Linked DNA regions of Homo sapiens: all the other regions are linked to region 1. Evidence: promoter capture Hi-C in 16 types of primary human blood cells and fetal thymus (Javierre and others, 2016). All regions are on one chromosome and are shown on one strand. Each heading gives the region's core, a stretch centred on a gene start or on the middle of the fragment in contact. The rest is flanking DNA. Distances are from core to core; before and after follow the strand shown.

Region 1 (4,406 bases), core at 1,218-3,717:
CACTACTGAGGATCCGTGAAGGAACATGGTCACTGTCTCCAGTCCAGCTTCCAGTACTGGAGTGGAACCCAGTAGGCACTATCAGGAATGAATTTCACTACAAGTGTGGTCAACTCTGATTTTCAAGGGAGTAATTACTTGCAAATTATACCCTTGCTGAATTCAGGAGGTCCGAAACCCTGTTCTACCATATCAGAAAATAGCCCAGGATTTCCTCACTGCTCTGCCTTCATGTATTCTGTAACTTGAGCCCTCATTTTCTCATCTGCAAAATAATAGTGCTTATGTGTATTTGCATATAGATTTGAAATCTTCATTCAAGGTTTAGTAGGGTAAAATTGTCTCAAAAATAAGAGAAACAAAAGTTCTGGAGCAAAAAGAAATCTGGATTTTAAATTACTATTGAGATTGAATCTTTAAAAATGCAAGTAAAACTATAGGTCACTTAAAAATTCTCTAAGATAAAAGTTGTATAAATACACTGGTGCTTGCTCTTCATTAACTCAATTAATAAAAGGGAAATAAATCACACCTAAAGTTGCTATATCAGAGTTCTTGGTCACAACGCTGAAATCATTTCTGGCTAACTGAATCAGAAGAGAAATATATTGGAAAGTCGTTAAGTAGCATACCAAAGAGACAGGAAGTTTGGCAAATAAGTCTCCTTACACAGGAAGGGAAGCTTAGCAGCTGAAATTACAACAGGTGGGTCATCACACCATTCAAATAGCTCACTTAGGACACCACTGACATTGCCGCAGTGTTACCTCTGGCACTACTGTCCCTGAACACAAAACCCACTTCACAGATAATGGAGACATTTCTAAAATGTTTCTTCTTGAAACACATAATCCAGATTCAAATAACTGTACAGGAGTCTCTGAGGCTGATGTTGGGTCACAAAATGGTACTCTAGCCGCTGGGGAGCAGGGGACGATGGGTATTGGGCCATTTTGGCTTTTATGAGAATTTGGATGCTAGATAGCAAGACCATGATCAATGACCACTCTAAATACGTACGTGGAATTTTTTGTTTCATAATGCTTTTTAGGAATCTGGCTAACCTTCTTAATTACCACTGAATTTTAAATTGTCCAGTAGGTCATGAGATTATCTGGTTCAATACTGCAAACTCAAATGCCTACCATATTCTCAAATGTCAGTGAGGTGGGGGTGTATGGGAGTGGTGGGGACTGTGGAAAACTGAAGAGTGTCTTCACAGTCTAAAGGCGACACCTGCTATTCAGCTTCAGCTGATGGTTGCTAGAACTCGCCATGGACCAAATGTCTGATGTTACGATTTTACAGAAAATGTGAAAAGTCTGAATTTCTGTGAAATTTCCTAACTTCAACATTTGGAACCAACTTAAAACTAAGCAAAACAACACTGTTGCTTCTTAAAAATCAAGGCTGCAGGCTGCCTCCAACAATCAAACTCTTCATTTAAAAAAAAAAAAAGAATCCAGGGAGATGAGGCTTAAGAAGGTGAAATGCTTGAGACCAAATAACTCAGTTGGTGGCTGAGCCAGGGCTAGAATTTTGGTTTCCAGAGGAAAGGCTAACTAAGAAAAGCCAGTGTTTCCCCACCCCACTCTGCAGCCATTTCTCTCACTTGGAAGTAAGCTCCCAACCAAGCTCAAGAAAAGCGACTCTATTTCATCCAGCAGCAGCAGTCTCCATAAAATGTTTATCAGTTAATAGAACCTGTGAAGCCAATAGAAACAGCTTTCAGTGTTGGATCAGAGTTTAAATTTCAGCTTCTACTGCTTTCTAGGTGAGTAACCTGGGATAAATTATTTTACTTCTCTGTCTCTCGTTCATGGAAAAAACAAAAACAAAAACAAAAAATGAGTCCCTTTTATATACAGGGTTGTGGCAGATGGACTAAGATTTTGTGTACCGACTGCCTGACACAGTGCCAGAACTGTAGTAAGAACACCACACGTGATAGTAACATAACATCCAGGAGATATTCTAATACTTCTTATTTTCCAAGTACACACAAATTGGGGGTAGGGGGAAGGGCTAAGATGCTTAATAGTGGGCGTAGCCAGTTGTGGATAAATATCAAAAAGGGAATCCTAACATGAAGTATAAGTGGGATTTTCACCAAAACCCTATCCTTCCCCAGACTCCAGTGACAGTTTAACGGTCAGCTGCATCAAGGCTTGTGTACTGTGCAGTCTTAAAAGGCACCACTCCTGTCCATCTCGGTGAAATTGATGGTGGAGCAAAAGGGAGTTTAGGTGGTTCCGGTCTGGGGAGAAGACGTGCAGGGTTTCAGATGCGAAAGTCGCACCCAACCGCTTCACTCGGGCTCTAGGCCATCCGCAGGGGCCCTGCTTCCTTCCACCTGCGAGCTTTTTCTGCAGAATGCGGGAAGCCGCCGCCGCCGCCACAGAGGAGGGGGCGGAGGCAGAGGCGGAGGCGGCACCCAGGGGCCGGGGCAGGGGAGGCCGGGACCATCGCAGTGACAATTTATTTTCCTGCAGCAGCGGCAGCAGGGACGGTTGCTGCAGGTTCGGGGTCGGCCGGCCTGCGCGTGGGCTTGCGAGGACGCTGTTCGTCCCCTGCGCTGGGGTGTCCGACAGCGAGGAGGAGAACGACGCACGGAGCCCGCGCGACTGGAACCAGCAAAGCTCCATCTGTCGGCAGAGGAGAAGGGGGAGGAGGCACGGCCGAGGCAAACGAGCGGACGCCTCGTCGCCGGGTGCCGGTATCACCCCGCTGCAACGCCTTCCAGCAAAAGCCACCGCGGCCCGGGTTGCAGCAGCCGGACGGATGCCAAGGCCACACGGCAGCCACGGGGGCAGCCGTCGCAGTCGCCGTCCCACACGGGCTGCGGACACCAAGGGTTGCTAGTGAGTAGCGGCGCGCGCGCGTGAGTGAGAGCGCGCACCGGACGGGGAAGTGCGCACGGCGGGTGCGTCTGCCTCGTGGCCTGGCGCGCGCCGGCCCTTCCGCTGGCAGCGTCCGGTCCCGGGCTGGCTCTAGGGGAGGAAAAAATGCACTTTGGCGGCTGATCGCTTCCTTCCTGCCAGTCATGCAATCGGCCGCCTCCATCGGCGCCGCCTGTATGCGCCCCTCCGCTGGGCCCTCTGGGTTAGTTTCACCTTGATAGGGAGGCAGGAAGACCTGGCTGCTGGTGGCAGGGCGGGACTCTGGCCGTGACCTATACGTGGGTGCGCCTGTTTTTTTGGTTCAGCCCTGGGTTGCAGCCTTGGAGATGATGTCGACCTTGGGAGAGACCACTGCACTGTCTCTAGCGGCGCGGTGTGGAGGAGGGAGGGGCGAGGGTTAGAAAAACGGACCTTTACCCCGGCCGAGCAGGTGCCATGCCTTTCCAGATGATGTTACTTTTATGCCCTTTATGAGCGACTAAGACATTGCCCCTCACCTGAATAACTTAAAGCTTTCGCTGAAAGCCCCCAGTGAGATGCACAAAGAAATGGAATGTCTCCAAAACATATTTTTTTCAGAACTTTCTCTAAAACAACCCACGCTGCTGATACCCCCAGAGCCTAAGGTGCCATAATTGCTGAAGTTTAAAAGAAAATTTATGTAAGGAATAAGTAATTCAGGAAACGGAACCCAATCTAGAGGTTTGAAAAAAAAAATCAAGTGCCTGGGAAGTGGGGTGGGGTGGCTTGCTTCCTGGAAATCAGTGTTCGGTAGTAAGTAAAAAAGACAGCTTTCAAAGTAAGCCCCAGTGAGCACACTGCTTTCCAAACATCTTGCTCATTACTGACAATAACATGAAGTCCTGGATTTTAAGCTATTTCCGAAGACATAATAGATATCACTAGGATGCTTGTTTATGGTCTCATGATTTAAGGCCCTGTCAAGGTCAATAACGTAGATTTGTTCCAGCAGATAAATTATACCTGAATGTTTGATTGTTCGTGTCAATTTTTTTGAGGGTAGGTTTTGACGGTTGTTTTACACAGAAATTAAGCCACCGTGTTTTGTTTTTATCCCGACCTTGTTTCCATTGGAAATTTTGTGTTTTCAGGATGGATGCTACATTGCACTTCAAAAATATACTCTGCCACTGGATTGTAGTGGGCATTGTGTAGCTACACTATACATATCTTTATTTTTAATACAAGTTAATGTGTCGCTGAGCAGTAGGCTCTTTTTGTTTACCATTTGCACCATGAGAGCTTCTCCATTCAAAGGCATAAAATGTTATTGGAATCTACCTGCAAAATGAATTGGCTGATTGTTTTCTGTTCAGACACAGATACAGCAAATTGCCACTAAGAATCTGCTTTTGCGTATACGTTGGCTGTAATTTATGTAGCAACTGGTTCTTGGGAATTTCAAGAAGAAACTTGTTTTCTTATCCTCACCTATAAAGTAAGCACCAAAATTTAAATTATAAGGCAGATAACCTAAGTCCTTTA
Region 2 (4,406 bases), core at 728-3,227, 1.1 Mb before region 1:
TCTTGTTACCCATACTGACCTATTCATTCTTCACTGGCTGCACATCATCTTTCTATACCCTAAATAAAGGAAATGTATCAAGGCTTACGCTTCAGCTTACCAATTATGCTGCATTACACCACCTCTTTTGGAGACTTCATCACTCTTAGTATAGTCATTACCATTTATTACAGTGACAATTACATTAGAATTTCTCAACAAATATATGTATAAATCTTGATGGTGGTGAGGGGAGATGGGGAATAATTTGGGAAAAGTTCTACAAATGATATCTACACATACAGGAATAACCATATGGCCTACTCACTGTTCTAACGACTTCAACTACTTATAACCATCGATAAGGAAATATACCTCTGGATTGACCTTTTTTCTGAGATTCAGACCTGCAACTTCAATTGCTATATGAACATTTCCTCCTGAATTCCTACCACCAACACAAACCCAACATGGCCAGATCAAATGTCATCTTCTCATAAATTTGCCCTACCTACCAGTTTCCAAACCTCTATAAAAGATATTATAAGTCTTTGAGGTATCCAGACAAATCTTTGGTTCGTTTTTAAGATTTTAAGATGTCCTTTTTCTTTTCCCACATCATCACAAAGTCCTTCCTGCATTCATTTGTGTTAGTCTATTTCACTCAAGTCATTCCTTTTGTCACCCTCTTATTCTAAGTCTTTGCCAGGACTGTTGCAGTCTATCACCAACAGATCTTGCTTCTAGTACCTCTTGACTCCTATTCCTTCTGCATACTACTATAAGGTGAATTATCCTTAAAACATTGTATATCACCCACCCATTCAAATATATTTAATGAGTTAAGCCTACAGAAGTCTTCAATTGGTCAACAGCATATTTATTTATTTATTTATTTTTGAGATGGAGTCTCTCTCTGTTGCCCAGGCTGGAGTGCAGGGGTGTGATCTTGGCTCACTGCAACCTCTGCCTCCCGGGTTCAAGCAATTCTCAACCTCCCGAGTAGCTGGGTGTGCACCACTACGTCCGGCTAATGTTTTGTATTTTTATTAGAGATGGGGTTTCACCATGTTGGCCAGGCTGATCTCCAACTCCTGACCTCAAGTGATCTGCCTGTCTCGGCCTCCCAAAGTGCTGGGATTATAGGCGTGAGCCACCACATGGCCAGTCAACAGCATGTTTAACAGCTGGTCAGAGATGTAGGGAAGAGAAGAGGAGGGGTAACCAAGAAGCTATAGCCGTTGGCCAAGCAAATCCCATTTCATCCTGAGTGTTTTAAACACTGGTAAATTACTGTGGAATGGGATAATGCTAGAAGCAAAAAGTATCCCTCCTTTTCAGTTGATGATGGATTCTAAAATGCTGTGTATTTTTTATCAGCCTCAGTCCACCCAACAAAACAAAAAGGACCAAAGAAGGAAAAAGTAATGCATTCTATTTAAAACTGTCCTTGCCTACCCTAGAGGCCAAGCTCTTTCATGAAGCCATCTTCAACTACCACAATCACTGGTGACTACTATTTTCTCTAAGAGCCACAGTTTCTGTCTACACTACTCAATAAGCAACTGGGATATGCTACTTACTATTATAATTTATATTATCATGAACAAGTCTTTTCTCCCTATCATGGGCACTATGAAGGACATAATATCTAATGTTTCATATACCTAATATTTAGAATAATACTATACACATAATTTTCAATGAAGGCTTGTAGTACTTAGCATCTATATTTAGCTTTCTGTATGTCTTCTATATGTGTATTCAGGAGTTCTTAGAAGCCAAGGGGAAAAAAAGACAAAATTATCTTTAAAAGTCACACCTCTGCTTTTTAAAATGCTGAAACGATGTAACTTATAATATTTTGACATCATACTTAAACTGACTTTCATGATTCAGGTGGGAGAAAAAAACCCAACACTTAGGTTGACATATGGATATACTCAAACTAGTTTTTCTTTTTTTTTTTTTTTAAATCTACCCTGGTCAGACTTCCCAGAGACTTACAAATAGGCTGATAATATCATCTAGAACTTCAGTCAACTATTTTATAATAAAATTCAAGGAAAAAGTTCAGAATTCTCCAAAGTGCCTTTCAGATATATACTTATTGCAGTGTTTATAAAATTGTGGTTTTCACTTTTTACTGATTTAAGGGCTAACATTGTAAAACAGTCATTTATTTACATCCCTATTTCCCACAATAGCCTATAGCATTTTGAAAGAACAAGATTTATTCATCTTTTTTCTTTGGTACCAAGTAGTTGATAGGGACTCAATAAATGTTTATTGAATAAATCTGTCACAACTCACAAGACAGATCTAAAAATCCATGAATATCCTATTTAATTATTTTAAGATAAATTATGTTATTATACCATAAGATATTCAATAAGACATAAATATTTTAGTTATTAATTATTGTTTAAAAAAAAAGAGCCAGAAGGGAAAAGCCACCTAACAGCACAAAAAATCTGTAAGACTCCTTTAAGGTTTTTATGTTTTGATGACAAACAGAAACCAATCACCTTTAAAAGGAAATGAACACAAGAGGCAGCAGATAAAAAGTTAAAAACTACAGCTTATATTAATAATCAACAACTTTTACAGCAATTCATTAATTAGATTTTAGTGTAGCTTATAAGTTTAAGACTGAGAGCGTTTCAGTATTATCCACATTTCAGATGTCATACACAGCAAAAGGCATATCATTACTGAAGATAAATATTTTGGGTTAGCCTAAAAACTTTTATCTAGATCCTACCTCCAAAGCTGACAAAAATATTCTAATGAAGATGTTCACAATATTTTATTGTTTATTCATTTTTCTTCTGATAAGTTGTTTATATAGTAAAAAATGACTTGAAATAATGTCATAATAAACTAGTACTTTGTAAGAGTAATAAAACTATGAGTACCAATACATTTTCATGTGGGTCTTATAGAATTTCTCATTAATTTGTGAACTCTACCAAATTTTTAGTTTGAGGGGAAAATACTTGTTAGCCACAAGAAAAATGATCTTCAAACATTTCAATCATACCTGTTTCTGAGCTTCTACTTTTTGCTTTCTGGTTGGATCAATTGCATCTACCATCCATTTGATAGTAAAGTATGTCACTGCACCAAATATTGTCAAACGGAAAATTAAACCAACAACTTCATTCCGACTCAAAGGACGAGAAAAGGCTTCAGCATGTACCATCTTGAATGTTAACCTTAAAAAAACAAACAGAAATGTCACTAGGTAATAACTATACTTATTAAAATTGTAAGACTAACAAAGTAGCTTAAACTAAGAAAGAAAAACTAACTTCTAGTCAAATTAAAATATTACCTACCTTAAAAAAAGTGTTTCATTTTAAGGAGAAATGGATTTTTAAATGTTAAGTAAACAAATACATTTAAAGCTCCTCTTGCAAACTAGAAGTAGACTAGAAATTAAGATTTATTTGGTAGTAGAATTAATCATTTTATTTGAAAAATACAGTAAATATCTTAAGGTATTTACTCAAAACAGCTTTAAAGAACTATTTCAGAGTCTAGGAAAGTATCAACTATAACACTAATCCAACTGAAGAAAGGCAGCCCAACAATACTAATGTGACGGTAAGAATTTCTTCTATTAACTGTATCATATACCAGGTAATTTTTGAGTGAAATTCAAATTGTGAACTGACTCACTTTTTCCTCATACATACTTTTAAAGGTTTTCAAGGCCTGCTTAAATTTAAACATGCCATTTCCTCAGTAATAAGTGGTATTAACTTTTTTGAGCCACACTATTGTTCCCAACAACCGGGCTAAGTAGGAAGCAATAGAACTTGGAAAAATCTTGAACTGAGACAACTACTACAAGAATACAGCACTCACCCAAGCTAAAGAGAAAAAAAATGAGATAAATGTGCCTATTTTTGCATATATCCCTGAACAGCTACATCAATCAAAGCTAGGCTTACAGAAGACATACACTCCTCTGTCAATGGCAATAACTACCCGGAAGAATAAGCTTGTTAGGGATGATATGACTATCACATTTTGGGAGATAGGATCTTAGCTTCAAATACTGCCATTATACTCTCAGCACAGGAGTGTGCTGAATGCTATGGGATATATAAGAAAAAGAGAATATATATTTGTACTTACATAAACATGAAAAAAAACAGAATTTGTATGGCTCAGCAGATAAAAGTTAGGTACTGCAAAGATTAATATCCATGGTCCTTCCAGCTCTAAAATTCTCCTCTCACTACTACTAAATTAAAGAGCCTCTTCACCTTCCTCCCTCTAGAATAGCTCCAAAAATTTTTTATTTCCTTTTATACCCCTCACCTCCACTCAAGGATATATACTCCTTCTCTCTAATCAAAAGACCCCAAAGTATTTCCTTTATACGTTTCCCAAGCATTCAAAACTATTCTAATCTA
Region 3 (4,406 bases), core at 803-3,302, 1.0 Mb before region 1:
TAATTTGTTGCCATTGCCCATCAAAACATTAAAAAAACGAACAAGCATTTTTTACAATGGGAAATTTTACATCATTCTTTTTTCTCTTTGAACTTGAATTTTTTTTCCAATTCTGATACAGATTTTTATTTGGATGTAATATATATTATGTGTGAATATCTTTTATTGATGATGACTGTATCATATTTCCATGCAACAAATTTTATAAAAATTTAAATTGTGTTAAATTTTCTGGACCATAATGCTCCTCAGTGTTAAAAATTATTCCAAATTATCATTAATATTTTTGTATAATCAAATAAATACTTTTAAATTTTGATAATTATTAAATATAAAAAAATCAACTGGGCTTAAAAAATTGGTTTATATATCACAAATGAATTTTATATATTCCTAGAAGGAGACAAGTTCAGCATTAGATCATTTATCCCTAGTTTTTGCTTTTATGTTGTAAACATTGAGTAATATTATTCACATAAGTAGATGGTGAGTGAAAGGAAGTGTTTTAGCAGTGTTACTCATTTATTTGAAAGCTTCCCAAATTATATGTCATACATCACTTAGTGATCTTATTTGTAATGATTTTTCAATGAATAGTTTCAATAGGTTCTCCTTCAATTTACCAGAAAAAAAATTAATGTTAAACAGGTTAACTTTTAAAAGGGTTTGTTGGTAAAATTATTCAGCTACTTAGCAGCAATATCATTATTGCAGATGATCTCTTTAGCTCCTTGCAGGTTTTTACACTTTCAGGCAGTACATCGTTTCAGCATTCAGATGGAGAGGGGTATTCTGTTCTCTTTTAAAGTGGGATAAAGGGCACTGTGAAAGGGGAAATGGGGACAAGGAACTACTAGGTCCACTTGACTACACTAGTTCTGAGGCACATCAGATTTAGGAGAAAGTGTATATGGAAGTTATGGAATTGATTCTCTTGAAACTAAGAACCTTATTTCTCCTATTTGAAGACCACTACTCTGATGTTTATACCCAAAAGTGGAATTGCTTGTGTTGGAGTCTCCTAAGCTGTGTAACTGTTTCACTGAAGTCACATCACTGAGGACATTGCTGTGCCTCTCAAGGACTCAGGAACAGTCCCTCTGTCCATATATGTAAGTCATAGCAATCTTCTATATTTGGGAAAAATCCCTTGGTCGCCTTATTTAAATAACTGGTGAGCAATGAGTAGTAATCCATCAGTGTTCTATGAGACACCAAATTTCTTTCTATAATGTGGCTTTTGACAACTTCTGGAAGTATTTTTATTCATGATTCTCACATTTCTTTCTTTAAAGGGCATCATTAGTCTACCATCAACCAAGATGTTATACAAAGACAGCATCGTAATTCATTTACATTGAGTGCCCTAAAGCACAAATGCCTTTAAGGCCTTCTTTACTCTCTATTAATTGCAAAATAAACAGATGTCTACTGGAGAAGGTTATTAGAAATAATTTGTGCAGTTTGGGAGAACTAGGGGTCAGGATTCCTTGACTCAGCTTCTGAAACAAACTCAAGCCCACTAAACCACCAAGGTAACTACATCCAGAAATCTGCAAACCAGAAAATGTTTGCCCTGAATAAGGTAAAGGACAAAAAAGAATAAGGGCAAACATTTTCTGGTTTGCAGATTTCTGGATGTAGTTGCAAAGGACAGTACATTTCAAAAACAGAGTAATGGCCATTCTCAAGCAGGACTCAGTTTAATTCTACTTGAAAAGAGTGAGAACATTTAATGTGCCAAATTCAAGTCATAAGGAAAAGTTGACCAGTTAATAGGACAAATGCCACAACATTGTAAAATAAACAAGATTTGAAATGCAGAAAATCCTATTTTACAATGAACAAGTCTACAAGAACACAAGAATAAAGCACACCTTAATTAAGTCCTCCCTCTTACTTGTTTCAACAGGTGAGGTAGGAAAACAGTGGTCCTATGAGTGGCAGCAGCCAATGGCCTGGGGCTGCACCCTGGGAGCTAGCCAAGACAAAGATGCCATGTCCAGAAAAGAAATTTCAGAAATGACTTATGGCTCAGAGCCATGTATGTAAATGAGGTTATTTTTTTTTTCTCTGAAAATGGTCTGTTTCTATCCATTAGCTTTCTCCCAGTTCCCTGACTTCATAAAATTTATGTTAAGGATTTGAAATATTCCCAGATTAATTTTCAAGTACCATGACTTTACTTAGAGACTTCATTTTTCTTTAGGGTTCCCTGCAATGCAAACCTGTACCTTCTTTAATAAATGTAAATATTTAAGCCACGTGAGGTGGCTCACACCTGTAGTCCCAGCACTTTGGGAAGCTGAAGCAGGTGGATTACTTGAGGTTCAGAGTTCAAGACCAGCCTGGCCAATATGGTGAAGCCCTGTCTCTACTATAAATACAAAAATTAGCCTGGCATAGTGGTGTGTGCCTGTAGTCCCAGCTACTTGGGAGGCTGAGGCAGTAGAATCGCTTGAACCCGGGAGGCAGAGGTTACAGTGAGCCAAGACTGCCCCACTGCACTCCAGTCTGGGCACTCCGTCTCAAAAAAGAAAAAAAAAAAAAGTAGTACATTTAGTACAATTAAGTAACAAAAATCTACAAAAGGGAACTGTTCTATTATATTTAGAAAAGATAAAATTTCCCTCCTAAGCTAGTTCTGACATTAGGTTTTTCTATGGTATTCTTTCTGAAGTTCCTACAAGAGAGAAAAATCTAAATCACAATAGGAGTATTTTTTGAACTTATTCTATTGATCTTAAAACATTGTTTAATAAGAGACTTATAACTGGGCAGGGCCTAGAACTGCTTTATTTTATTATTTAGTGTAACCATGAAATTAAACAGTGGTCTACCATTGGGGACCAAGGTCAGATTCAAAAAGATTTAAATATAAATTAAAGCTACTACACATTTATGTGGTTGAAAAATCAAAAGGTACAAAACAACAGCATCACATATGATATCACTTGTGGCCCTTGCAGTTGTGTAACTTGGCAGTCCTGTATATATCACCTTCCCAGGGGATCTCTCAGCCATATCAGTTTCTTGTATATTAATAAGGGGAATCTTGAAAGATAGAGGTCAAGAGGAGAAAAATAGGGATTGGAAGAAAGAATGGCAAGAGAGGGCAGGAGAAAGGAGAGTGGAACGATGGACGAAAAGGGAAAGACTGAGGCCTTATACAAAGGATTGGCAACTTTCTCCCAGCCCTCTCTTGCAGTTGTCCTTGGTGTGTGTGTGTATATTTGTACATGAATAGAAGAGGAAGAAATGGAAAGCTGGTGGGGGCGGGGGGAAGCCACTTATCTGGGGAAGGATAGTGGTGAGCCCTGGAGAATTTTTAACTTAGTGCATGCATTACTTGAATAAAGTTCCTTGTATTGCCTTTTCTGATATCATTTTTATCTAGACTCATCCAAGAATATGTTAGTATTTTGAGATTTAGCTTTTGGGAAAAAATTCAAAGCTAATAAGCATAAATATTTGTGCAAGAAAGAGAAGCAGATATGCAGACCTCTACCACCTCTTACCAGAGACAAACTAACCTTTCTCCAGCACACATTGGCCTGATGAAATCTAGAATTAAGCTTTCTCTCAGCACTGACCTGCCTCAGACTGCAAAGAGGTTTTCTAACTGGTTTTGAGCCATGATGAAGGTGCTGACTGTAACTGCATGGCAGCATTTTCATTGACTCCAACTCTTCAGCAGGTGGCAGCGTTCTCCTTGCTCCATGTGGGTTTGGTGTTTCCTTCCTTTCAAAAGAGCACGGGCCTCACAGTCCCTTTTCTGTCTGCGGTCCACATGTAACGGCTGCCTCCTTTATATTCTTGTCTGAAAGACACTCTCCCAGTAATCTTAGGAACTAAGGAGGAGAAACAAATTTGCAACATGTGGCTATTCATGTTTTAATGTTTGATCCTTAAGGTATTTAGCGTCATGGGCTAATTTCAAGGCACTTAAGGTTAGAGAGTGAACATCGGGAATCATTCATTCACTTATCCTTGTTTTTCTCCATCCCAAACCCTATTTATCATCTCTATTTAAGCAATCTCCTTGTTTTCTTTGTTCACTCCTTTCCAAGCCTTGAAAATGTCATTAAAAACCATCTCTAGTCAAATTTCTAACTAACTCATTTAGGTTTCTATACAAGCTAGACTTTCTTACCATCTTTATTCACTGATAGGGTATATCAGGGAATTCTCCGGGCTCCAACTGAGGATCCCTCACTGAGTTGCTGTGTAATCTGGGGCATGTAAACCCTTTGCGCCTCAGTTTCTTCATTTGTAAAATGAGATTGGTAAACTAGCGGGTCTATGAAGTTTTTTTCTAGCTCTTATGCACTGGATGATAAAGCAGTCTGCCACTCTCTTGAATGGAAGAAGATGGGGGTACTGTGCTGTCATATGATTATTTTTCG

The links. The method cuts DNA at HindIII sites, captures the fragments that hold promoters and counts their contacts. A CHiCAGO score of 5 or more calls a contact.
Region 2: a fragment that was not itself captured here is called in contact with the fragment with the promoter of STAMBPL1 in region 1 in 2 of 17 cell types (neutrophils and total CD4 T cells); the score reaches 5.1 in neutrophils.
Region 3: a fragment that was not itself captured here is called in contact with the fragment with the promoter of STAMBPL1 in region 1 in 1 of 17 cell types (neutrophils); the score reaches 5.5 in neutrophils.

Annotation. Positions count from the first base shown.
Region 1 is chr10:88,877,778-88,882,183 of GRCh38, forward strand. STAMBPL1 (STAM binding protein like 1) reads left to right here and starts at 2,468. Exons shown (of 11, transcript NM_020799.4): 1 at 2,468-2,861. LOC124902551 reads right to left here and starts at 2,887. Exons shown (of 1, transcript XM_047426134.1): 1 at 1,957-2,887. The coding sequence starts at 2,645. The coding sequence ends at 2,118. RefSeq lists a silencer at 2,357-2,486 and enhancers at 3,067-3,176, 4,197-4,406. The HindIII fragment of the contact is 2,730 bases long and covers 681-3,410 here.
Region 2 is chr10:87,811,416-87,815,821 of GRCh38, forward strand. ATAD1 (ATPase family AAA domain containing 1) reads right to left here. Exons shown (of 10, transcript NM_001321967.2): 2 at 3,023-3,197. The coding sequence starts at 3,184. Among named protein-coding and RNA genes, the nearest start is that of ATAD1, 4.6 kb to the right of the region's middle. The HindIII fragment of the contact is 4,017 bases long and covers 1-3,986 here.
Region 3 is chr10:87,847,259-87,851,664 of GRCh38, forward strand. No RefSeq gene overlaps it. Among named protein-coding and RNA genes, the nearest start is that of KLLN, 14 kb to the right of the region's middle. The HindIII fragment of the contact is 3,042 bases long and covers 532-3,573 here.